Regions from separate parts of the Homo sapiens genome. Here regions 2, 3 and 4 are each linked to region 1. Evidence: promoter capture Hi-C in 16 types of primary human blood cells and fetal thymus (Javierre and others, 2016). All regions are on one chromosome and are shown on one strand. The core of a region is centred on a gene start or on the middle of the fragment in contact, and the rest is flanking DNA. Distances in the headings are between cores, read along the strand shown. Region 1 holds the start of ATG9A (autophagy related 9A). Region 2 overlaps TTLL4 (tubulin tyrosine ligase like 4). Region 3 overlaps WNT6 (Wnt family member 6). Region 4 overlaps LINC01494 (long intergenic non-protein coding RNA 1494).

What was found. Contacts are between HindIII fragments. The CHiCAGO score rates a contact against its expected background, and 5 or more counts as called.
Region 2: a contact is called between a fragment that was not itself captured here and the fragment with the promoter of ATG9A in region 1, in 1 of 17 cell types (erythroblasts). The highest score is 5.2, in erythroblasts.
Region 3: a contact is called between a fragment that was not itself captured here and the fragment with the promoter of ATG9A in region 1, in 1 of 17 cell types (activated CD4 T cells). The highest score is 5.0, in activated CD4 T cells.
Region 4: a contact is called between a fragment that was not itself captured here and the fragment with the promoter of ATG9A in region 1, in 2 of 17 cell types (total B cells and naive B cells). The highest score is 6.0, in total B cells.

Annotation. Positions count from the first base shown.
Region 1 is chr2:219,228,357-219,230,909 of GRCh38, reverse strand. It overlaps ATG9A (autophagy related 9A), which reads left to right and starts at 1,274. Exons shown (of 16, transcript NM_001077198.3): 1 at 1,274-1,375; 2 at 2,425-2,476. ANKZF1 (ankyrin repeat and zinc finger peptidyl tRNA hydrolase 1) reads right to left here and starts at 1,104. Exons shown (of 14, transcript NM_018089.3): 1 at 1,010-1,104; 2 at 505-682. The coding sequence starts at 652. RefSeq lists enhancers at 910-1,019, 690-1,237, 1,238-1,785, 1,786-2,334 and silencers at 1,170-1,299, 1,510-1,559. The HindIII fragment of the contact is 5,267 bases long and covers 1-2,553 here.
Region 2 is chr2:218,719,332-218,721,884 of GRCh38, reverse strand. The region is part of intron 1 of TTLL4 (tubulin tyrosine ligase like 4); the gene reads right to left. Among named protein-coding and RNA genes, the nearest start is that of TTLL4, 9.8 kb to the right of the region's middle. RefSeq lists a silencer at 2,022-2,319. The HindIII fragment of the contact is 2,321 bases long and covers 114-2,434 here.
Region 3 is chr2:218,872,054-218,874,606 of GRCh38, reverse strand. WNT6 (Wnt family member 6) reads right to left here. Exons shown (of 4, transcript NM_006522.4): 4 at 374-1,223. The coding sequence ends at 762. It also overlaps a transcript of WNT10A not described here. Among named protein-coding and RNA genes, the nearest start is that of WNT10A, 7.5 kb to the left of the region's middle. RefSeq lists an enhancer at 2,006-2,553. The HindIII fragment of the contact is 2,323 bases long and covers 123-2,445 here.
Region 4 is chr2:218,903,258-218,905,810 of GRCh38, reverse strand. The region is part of intron 4 of LINC01494 (long intergenic non-protein coding RNA 1494); the gene reads left to right. Among named protein-coding and RNA genes, the nearest start is that of WNT10A, 24 kb to the right of the region's middle. The HindIII fragment of the contact is 1,258 bases long and covers 636-1,893 here.

The DNA of each region.
Region 1 (2,553 bases), core at 25-2,524:
ATAATTAGCCGGGCATGGTGGTGCGGGCCTGTAGTCCCAGCTACTCGGGAGGCTGAGGCAGGAGAATCACTTGAACCCGGGAGACGGAGATTGCAGTGGGTGGAGATCGTGCCACTGCACTTTAGCCTGGGCGACAGAGCGAGACTCTCAAAAAATAAAGCTATACGAAACAAATAATAAATTGTTTCATATTCAGCAAAAAGGAATAATTTGAGTGGGGCCTGGTTAAATGTGGAATACATCTGAGAATTTTATCTCTACAAAGTTTAAAGTGTTTTTGAAGGGAATGGTGTTAACGTGAGGAGATACATGCAATGGCAAAAAGACTTGTTTGAAAACAAGGGCTGTGCTGGACATTACCCAGAGATTAAGTGAATTTAATCAAGCAGAAAGATAAATCAATTGGCCTCCTAAGCTCGGGAATACCAATAAGAATGTGTTCCCTGAACGGGCAATACGCTGTAAGGAGCCCTGTCACGTTTCACACGAAACCTTCCAGGATACCTGAACAGGAAGTACGCGGAGCCCGGGCCAGAGCCTCCCCAGGCGCGTGGCTCACCAGGCTCAGGCCCTGAAAGACCGGAGCATCCGCGCTGAGGTCAAACAGGGAGATCGACGCAGGAGCCGGGGCTGCATCTGGAGCCGGCGACATGGCTGAGCAGAAATTATTTAGCAGCAGCTCCTGGAGTAGAAAGCGTGTAAGAAACAGGGCTCCTGCAAACGAGATCCTACTGCTGCGTCTCCTGCCTGCCTGACTTGGTTTCTCCTGCACCGCAAGACTTCTCGTCTCTCATCCTGCTACCAACTGTGAGATGAATACCTTGGCCCCCGTCCACTTTCTCAAACCCCCAGTCTCAGCCCACAAAAGAATGAAATAGGCATTCGGCTCCCAAATCGAGTCCAACAGAGTTAAAAATCACTGAGCTTGCCTAGCCGAACTTTCTTCGTTACCCATGCGACCAGCAACAACTGGCCCGCGTAAACTCGCCCACGCCCTTAGAAGACGCACCAAACGTCCCGGGAGCTGAGCGGCTCGCAAGTCCTCAGGTCGATTGCCGGATTTCTGCAACACAACAATCCCCGTCACTACGGAGCAGCGAAGAGGACAACCGGCGGCGTCCGCACCTGAGCCCCGCCCCACGTAGAGCACACTATTGGGCCGCTGACTGTCCAAGACCCGCCTCGAGACTTTAGTCCCGTCCCTGAAGCCGAGAATTGGCCGTTGTGTCTCCGCCCCCCGTGCTTATTGGCCAGCCTGGCTGCGGGTGACAGTGAGTGGCAGACACCCGGCCTAGCGCCGCGGGTCGCGCCGAGCCGAGCCGAGCCGAGCGGAGCCGGCGGAGCCTCTGGAATCACCCGGGTCGCTGTTCCTGAGGTAAGACGTGAGACCGGTTATTGGAATCCCAGGCCCCGTGTCTGGCCTTGCCCAGGGGTGCCTGCGGAGCCCTAAGTGAGCTCGCGGCGGGTAACGGAGGAAGGGGCGCCGCCGGCGGGGCGGGGGCGCGCAGCCGGAATGTTTTGATTGCTGGCGCGCGCAGACGGGGGCGCGCGCGGGCGCCGGGGCCGCGCGCGAGGTTGTCCGCTGTTGGGAGCTGCCAGCCCTTGGCCTGGGGCCGGGCGACCCTGGGGCGAGGTGGACTCCGGTCCACGGTCGCCGCGGCTGGGTGTGGGGAGGCAAGCCAACCCACCCGGGCTATCAGCTGTAAGGCTGACTCGATCCCTGCAACATCCGCAGGAACCCCTGAGCCCAGGCCCAGCCGGCCGGGGCTCCACGGGCCCTGGTCCACACTGACCCTGTGAGTGGTGACTTCCCTGAGGGGCAGGGCTCTCACTAGCCCAGGGAATCCCACCGGGGCCAGGCTGGGCCAAGATCCACGGCCCCCAGGGGCTGCACGGACAGGTGAGTACCACCTCGACCATGCCTGGCTTACAGGACCTAGGGAACCCACAAATTCACCTAGGATCGGGGGTCTACACTGACCCAGTCAAGGTTTCCCATCCAGAAGGTTTGCTCACCGGCTGGATCTTTGGTGCTAGGGAAGTAAGAGAAGGGGTTGACCAGAAAGGTCCTCTTCAGGAAAGACTCTTGAGGTTTTGTGGACCCTGAGAAGTATGTCATTTCTGAGGCTAAGGTAGGGCAATGGAGAAATAGTCCAGAGGCGCCCCTGGCCTCAGGTCTGTACCCACTCATTCTCCATGGGGTCCCTAAGTTACTTCTTGAGACCCTGGAGTTGGAAGAGTGGCCCGGTTTAGCACAGCCAGAGGAAGTGCTCGTAGTCCTGGGCTGGAAGGGTGCTTCTTCCCCACTGCAGCCTTCCTGCCCCATGCTTGGCCTCCTCTTGGTGGGGTGTGGATGGCTGGGAGGGTTGGGTTCCTTTTTATCCCCACTGCCCACTCTCTGGGGCCTGACATCTTCTCCTCCAGCAGCTGCAGAGCATCGAGGGCTGGAGAGGAGCACATACTGTCCATGGAGCTGGTAGGGCCATGTGCTTTTCTCAAACATTTGTTTGTGAAGTGCTTCCAAACTGTTAGTCTCTTGGGAGACCAGGGTTC
Region 2 (2,553 bases), core at 25-2,524, 510 kb after region 1:
CTCAAAAGTGCTGAGATTACAGGTATGAGCCACTGGGCCTGGCTATTTTAAAATAAAAACCTCAATTATTTATGCATTTCTTTGCTATCTGTCTATCTTCCAGAATGAAAGCTTTGAGCACAGGGACTTTTTCACAGAGCTTATGTATCCAGCCCTAGAATGGTAATCAGGGCTCATTAAATATTTGCTGAATAAACAAATGCATCTACAACAGCTATGACCAGCTAAGGGGGAAAAAACTTTTTTCACTCCCTTACATAGTCACTCTTAACACAGTACAGAATATTTCACCTCTGGTCATCAAAATGTGTGAGGCACACACACCAAGGAATGCTCCAGAGGCCACCAGCTGGATATCCTATAATTCAATTCTGACACTATTTACCTAAAGATAGCATCAGATCTCACAGGTTAAGGGCTCAGTACCACAAGGCTGCTTCCACTTCAGATTCCAATTGCAAGGCACAGGTTGTGACCTGTGCTTCTGATTGATTTGCTATAAATTGGTGTTCCCTGGCCAGGCGCGGTGACGCACACCTGTAATCCCAACACCTTGGGTGGGGCGAATCGCTTGAGCCCAGGAGTTCAAAATTAGCCTGGGCCACATGGCAGAACCCCACCTCTTAATTAATTAATTAATTAATTAATTGGGGGTAAATTGAGGTTCCCAAAACCCCCCCATGGGGTTTGATCAATTTGTTAGAACAACTCACAGAACTCAGGGAAACACTTCACTTACATTTACCTATTTATTACAAAGGATACAGATGAACAGCCACATGGAAGAGATACATGATGCATAGGGCAAGGGATGGGGAAAAGGGCTTGGAGCTTCCGTGCTGTTACCGGGAGTGCCAGGTACATTCATGTGCTCAACAATCCAAACCCTGTCCTTTTGGGTTTTTATGCAGGTTTCATTAATAGGCATGACTGAATAAATCACTGGCCATTGGTAGTCAGCTCAATCTTTGGCTCCACTCCCCTTCCCAGAAGGTGGGGGATGGAACTGAAAGTTCCAACCCTCTAATCACATGGTTGGTTCTCTCGGCAATCAGCCTCCCATCTTGAGGCTATTCAGGAGTCCCCAGCTATCAATCATCTCATTAGCATATAAAAAGACACTTATCACTTACAAGTTCTGAAGGTTTTAGGAGCCAGGAACCAGGGGCACACCCCAATTATGTATTTCTTTCTTTTTTTTTTTTTTTTTGAGACCGGAGTCTCACTGTGTTGCCCAGGCTGGAGTGCAATGGTACGATCTCGGCTCGCTGCAACCTCTGCCTCCCGCGTTCATGCAATTCTCCCGCCTCAGCCTCCCGAATAGCCGGGATTACAGGCACCCGCCATCGTGCCCGGATAATTTTTGTATTTTTGTAGAGACAGGGTTTCACCATGCTGACCAGGCTGGAGTATTTCTTATTATATCACAATATCACATCAGCAAAGCCACGAGTTGGACCTATTCATATGAAAAAGGCGTTCCCCTCTTACCACCATCTCCTTGTTGCTATTTTTTACTCAGTGCGTGCACTCTGCCACAGCTGTACCCAACCCCTTCAATAGTGTCTTTCCTCCTCCTGAGGCCAATCCAAAATCCTCCAGTTCTTTCATCCTCCCCCACATCAAATCAATCTCTCTCACAATGTCAACTATTATCTGCAGAAGAGTCATTTTGCAGATTTGTCGTCTCAAGTTTCATGTCTGCATCACCAACTGCCTGTTCCACCTTTCCAAATGCATGTCCAACCACTTCAATCTAGTGTGTCAAACTAGCTCTCCACTCCTGATCGTCCCATTTCCTTGAGTGGACCCTTCTTTCTCCAAATCACCTAAGAGGAAAACTAAGTTATTTCTGACTTTTTCCTTTACTTTATTTCCCCAAAGGGAAACCAGTCATGAAATTTAAGACACTCTGTCTACTTAGCATTCTTCCTCCTTTTATTATTTCCACCATGCCCCTAGATCTGGACTTACTGCAACAGCACTGACTGAAGCATGTGTCTCCAAGGTGTGCCCTTCCTAATTCCACCCTGCAGGCAACCTCCAGATTAATTTTGCTGTATTGCTTCATCAGGTCAATCCCTTTTCAAAAACGGTCCATGAGCACTTACTAAACACTGTGGTGGCCCACCTGCATCAGAATAACCTGAGATGCAAAGTCCTGAGATTCACCTTCAAGAGGATTCAGTTGGTGTGGAGTAGGGCCATGAGTCTGCAGTTTTAACAAGCATTCCAGATGACTGTCATGTGAGATTTCTTAGCTTTGGTCCACAAGACTCCATAGTCGACCCTTAATCTTTTTTTTTTTTTTTTTAAGGCTTATTTCCATTTCCTCCTACCTTGAACTCTGTTATGTGAACTGCGCTGGTCTTACACTAAATTCCTGGAATAAACCTTTCAAATGCCTGTCTGCAGGGCTTTACTCCACTAAGCTTCTTCCTTGTGAATCCTTACCATATTTTATTTACCTTTTCCAGACCCAGCTCAAGACCCACCCTCTCCACGAGCACCTGTTGTGTGTCCCTCTCACGTGATACTTTCCCAAGGCTATCT
Region 3 (2,553 bases), core at 35-2,534, 360 kb after region 1:
CAAGCTTCAGCTCTGGAGAATCCAGAACTGCCCTCTGTCTCCTCACTTTCACCAGTAGCTTCCCAAGAGGAACCAGAAGGAAGGAAATATTGTTGGGTGTCAAGAGGTATGCATCAGAAGCTTCTGATGCCCCTGTCCCTTTAAAGAGGAATTGCTAGTTCTTCTCCAGCTTGCAGATCCAGGACCTAGATGTGTGACAGGAGTGAACAAGAAGAATGCCAAGGGGAGATAGCGAGTTTCCAGGAGAGGCCAACCTGGTCGGGAGATAGGGACCCAGGTGATAGCCCCTGAGGTGCTAGTTCTAGCAAAACCACCTTCTTCTGGAGCCTGGCAGCCTGAAGATCAGTCTCCCCCAAAACTGTGGGTCCAGCCCTGGTGGTTTAAATATCTTTATTGATACTAACCTCACCCACCATCCTGTGGCCAGCAGTTCTGGGGAGCCCAGTATCCAGAGGCCTTTAGACTGGCTTTTTTCCAGTCTAAAAAACTGTTTCCTCCTAGAGGCCAAGGGGAGGGAGGGCCTGTACAGTGTCCTTTAAACGCTCCCCGAGCGCCTTTTCGGGGCCGTCTGGCGCCCTGGGCCTTCGTGGGTGGGCGTTCCTCTCAAGCCCCTCGCCTCACCATTTCCAGAGCCCTGGGAGTTGGGCTTTGGCAGGGAGAGGCTGGGCTCGAGCGGCGAGAGGCGCCCGGTGCCGGTGCCCTGAGGTCCCACAGGTGCGAGCCACCGCTGCGCGAAGTCAGTCTAGCGGCCGGGCGGCGGGTCACAGGCAGAGGCTGAGCTCCTTGCGCACACGGCAGCGGTGGCACTGTACTACGCAGCACCAGTGGAAGCGGCACAGGCAGTTCTCTTCGAGCTGCACGCTCTCCTGGCGGTGCCCGCGGCCGCAGCACAGCAGGTCGCAGCCGCTGAGGTCCGGGGCGCTGCTATTGCAGGCGCGACCGCGCGTGCCGGGGGAGCCGGTGCGTCGGTTGGGGGCGCAGAAGTCGGGCGAATCGGCGGCGTAGAGGAGGTCCGCTCGGCCCGGCGGCTTGAGCGTGCGGACGGCGGGCAGCAGGGCCTTGCCGTCGTTGGTGCCCATGACGCGTGAGGCGCCGTGGAAGCGCTCCAGCAGCCGCGCGCCCACCTCGCGAAATGGAGGCAGCTTCTGCCAGCAGGTGCGCAGCGCGCATGATCCCGACAGCCCGTGGCATTTGCACTCGGTGCGCGTGTGGCTCCGCACGGCCTGCGGGAGGCAGAGGGGCGGACGCATGTGGACAGGTAGGGGGTGCAGGGAAGGGCCCAGCGGATGGACAGAAAATAAGATTGGGAATGGGAGGTGAAAGGAAGAGAGGAAAATGCAGACAAAAGGAGACCGCAAGTTCAGGGGGAGGAAATCAAGGAAAGGACAACTCGGAGGGGAGGAGCAGGAGGAATGGTGAGGATGGAGGAATATGATGATGACGAAGAGGGGAGACGGGGACAATATGCAGCGCAGAGATTCCAGGGTCCAAAGGCAGGGGGTGGGGGAGAAAGCAGAATGGACAGCAGGGGTGAGATTCTCTTTGGAGGAGGGGAGAGGTGGCAGCTGTCGAAGTCTAGCTCTCCTGCCTACCTGGCCCCCTCATTCCTACCCCTCACGGCCCCCAGGCCGGGCTGAGCACAGACGCAGAGCCAGCCTCCTGGGCATCTGTCTCCGTCACCCCTCCCCAACCCTCTCGGCAGGTATGTGGGCCTGTCCGGACATTCCTCTTCAGGCCCCCTCCTCCCCCTGCCCGATGCCTCAGGCCCGAACCCTAGAGGACACGGTATGTATGGCGATGTCCCTGGAGAACGCTAGAACGGAGGCATGGGGTGCAGGAGGGCCCGCTGGGAATGCAGTACTGAGAGTGGAACCCAGGCGGCCTCTCCCCTAGTCACTGTCTGAAGCAGGGTCTAAGATTCCCAAACCCACCAAGCGCTGATGGTTCAGAAGACCCAAGAAAATCATTTCTGGAAGCTCAGAGTCCAGGGGCTAACCTGACCATGTGTCCCACTCCCACCTCCTGAGTCTGCCCTGCCCCCTCCTGGAACCATCACACCCAGACAACCTTCTTGCCCCTGAATGAGAGCTCCTGGGGCTCTCCTCGTTACAGAGGGGAGAGGAGAGGCTGCCATGGCTCTGGGCAGGTGAGACCTGGGCTGGTGTTGCTGGGCAGCCAGTTGGCAAATGCCCAGAATTGGTCACAGCTGTCCTGGCCTCCACCTGACTCCCTCCAACCTCCACTAGGATTGGTTCCTTGTCCTTCGCTCTTTTCCATTGCCCCTCAGACCTGTTCTAACTCTTTCTAGGCCTCTCTCACTCCCCCTGGCTTCCCTGTACCAAAACCCCAGACCTTGCATTAGCTTCTATCCTGTCTTTCATCCCCACCTTTGTTTTATTCTCCTGCCCCTGCCTAGGCATCCAGACCTCCTACCCACTGCAAGCTTTGCTTCACCTGTCCTGTCTTGAAGCTGTGCCCTCTCTGCCTGGGGTCACTAAAGACCCTCAGTCCTATTCCCTGAGTGTCCCTTCCCCCATTCTGCCCGCTGTACCG
Region 4 (2,553 bases), core at 15-2,514, 330 kb after region 1:
GGGCAGTTCTCACGTGGGGTCTCTCAAGCAGTTCAGTTAGATGGTGGCTAAGGCTGGAGTCATCTGAAGGCTCAACTCGGCTGGATATCCAAGATGACTTTTTAAAAATTTATTTATTTATTTATTTATTTTTGAAGACACAGCCTCACTTCGTCACCCAGGCTGGACTGTAGTGGCGCAATCTCACTCACTGCAACCTCCACCTCCCAGGTTCAAGTGATTCTCATGCCTCAGCCTCCCGAGAAGCTGGGACTACAGGCATGTGCCACTATGTCTGGCTAATTTTTTGTATTTTTAGTAGAGATGGGGTTTCGCCATGTTGGCCAGGATGGTCTTGAACTCCTGGCCTCAAGTTATCCGCCTGCCTCGGCCTCCCAAAGTGCTGAGATTACAGGTGTGAACCACTGAGCCCAGCCCCAAGATGACTTTTTAAAGTCACATGTCTGGCACCTCATCTGAATTGGCTGGAACTGAAGGGGCCTGCCCAGGCATTACTCTCTCTATACAGCCTTCCCATGTGGCTTGTTTCGGGTTCCTCATAGCATGGTAGTCTCTGGGTAGACAGACCTCATACACGGTGATTGGCTTGCCCCAGAGTGAACATTCCGAGCGACTGAGGCAAAAACTGCAAAGCTTCCTATTCCCTCTCTTCAGCAGTCATGCAGCTTCGCTTCCACAGCACACTCAGTGAAAAGGAAGCATGGACTGGCCCTTTCAAGGGGAGGGGACAATACACAGGTGTGAAGCATGATTCAAGGCGGACCACCTTTGGGGCCCAGCTATTACAGGGGCTGAGGCAGGAAAGGACTGCTCAGGGAACTGCACACAGTCATGCTTCAGTGGAACATGGTGTGGAAGTGAGAAAAAACTGGAGATGATCGTTTGTGGCATATGGTGGAGGGCTTCAATGCTCAGGAACCTGCATATGGATACACACTGGAGTCTTTAGCTGCCCAGCATCTGAGCCCCCTTCATATGTTGGTGGAGCCTCCCTAATGTGAGTCTTAGTGAGAAGTCAGATACTTGCTCACCTGGCCCCTAGCAGGAAGATCACAGCCAAATCAATGCTCCCAGTCAGGACTCTAAATCTTCAACAAGTGACCCAAGGAGGAAGAGGACTGTTTATAATTCATCCCAGAGGTGGCAGCAGCAAGTGCTCAGGGTGGTGGTAGCCATGTGGGAAGCAGCCCCCAAGCCCCTTAATCAGGCTGCACTTGGGACAGGATTTAGCTAAAGTTCTAGCTGCCTAGCTTCTCTTGGCTCCTGCTTGCTTCCTGAGCCTGATTCTTGAGGCTTCCTGTCAATTCTTTGAGTTCCCTGATGTCATCCCAGTAAATTCCTCTTCTACTAAGTGAACCAGAGTCTGTTTCTGTTGTTTGCAATTAAGAACCCAAATTGGTACAAAGATCCATTGAGAGCTTTAGTCAGAGGAAATGACATGATCAGAGCACTTCGTGGGAGAGAAAAACAGAACAATAGGATAGGGATGGATTGAAGAGGAAGAAAGAGGAATGACAGAGGCTAGTTGGAAGGTCGTTGTGATGTTTGAGGTGTGTGGTGAACTAGGATATTGACCATGTGAATGAAGTGGAAGAATAAGCAGATCTTGGCCACTGATTGAATATAGAAAGGAGAAGAGAAGGTGAGAGTCCAAGTTTACACCAGTTTTGAGGTTCAGTGACTAAGAAAATGATGATGTGACAAAGAGAAACAAGCAAGTTAAGGAGAACTGGTTTGGAGGGGAAAGTCATTCATTCACTTATTCAACAAATATTAAATGCCTGGTCTATGCCAAGCACTGTGCTAGGCATTGAGAAAAGAACAGTAAACAAAACAAAGTCTCAGCCCTTAGCAAATACATACATAAGATAATGAATCTGCATTAATAAAGCTTGAGCCGGGCATGGTGGCTCACGCCTGTAATCCCAGCACTTTGGGAGGCTGAGGTAGGTGGATCACTTGGGGTCAGAAGTTCAAGACCAGCCTGGCCAACATAGTGAAACCCCATCTCTACTAAAAATACAAAAAATGAGCTGGGCGTGGTGGCAGGCCACCTGTAATCCCAGCCACTCAGGAGGCTGATGCAGGAGAATTGCTTGAACCTGGGAGGCAGAGGAGTCAGAGGTTGCTGTGAGCTGAGATGGCGCCATTGCACTCCAGCCTGGGTGACAGAGCAGGACTCTGTCTCAAAAATAAAATAAAATAAAATAAAGCTTGAGTGGGTGGTATCACAGGCATACATTAAAACATGTCTAGCTGGCAGCTGGAACTTCAAGAAAGATCACAGGAGACCAGGTGTGGTGGCTCACACCTGTAATCCCAGCACTTTGGGAGGCCAAGATGGGTGGATCACCTGAGGTCAGGAATTCAAGACCTGCCTGGCCAACATGGCGAAACCCTGTCTCTACTAAAATACAAAAATTAGCCCGGCATGGTGGTGCACACCTGTAATACCAGCTACTCAGGAGGCTAAGGCAGGAGAATTGCTTGAACCCAGGAGGCAGAGGTTGCAGTAAGCTGAAATCACACCACTGCATTCCAGCTTGGGTGACA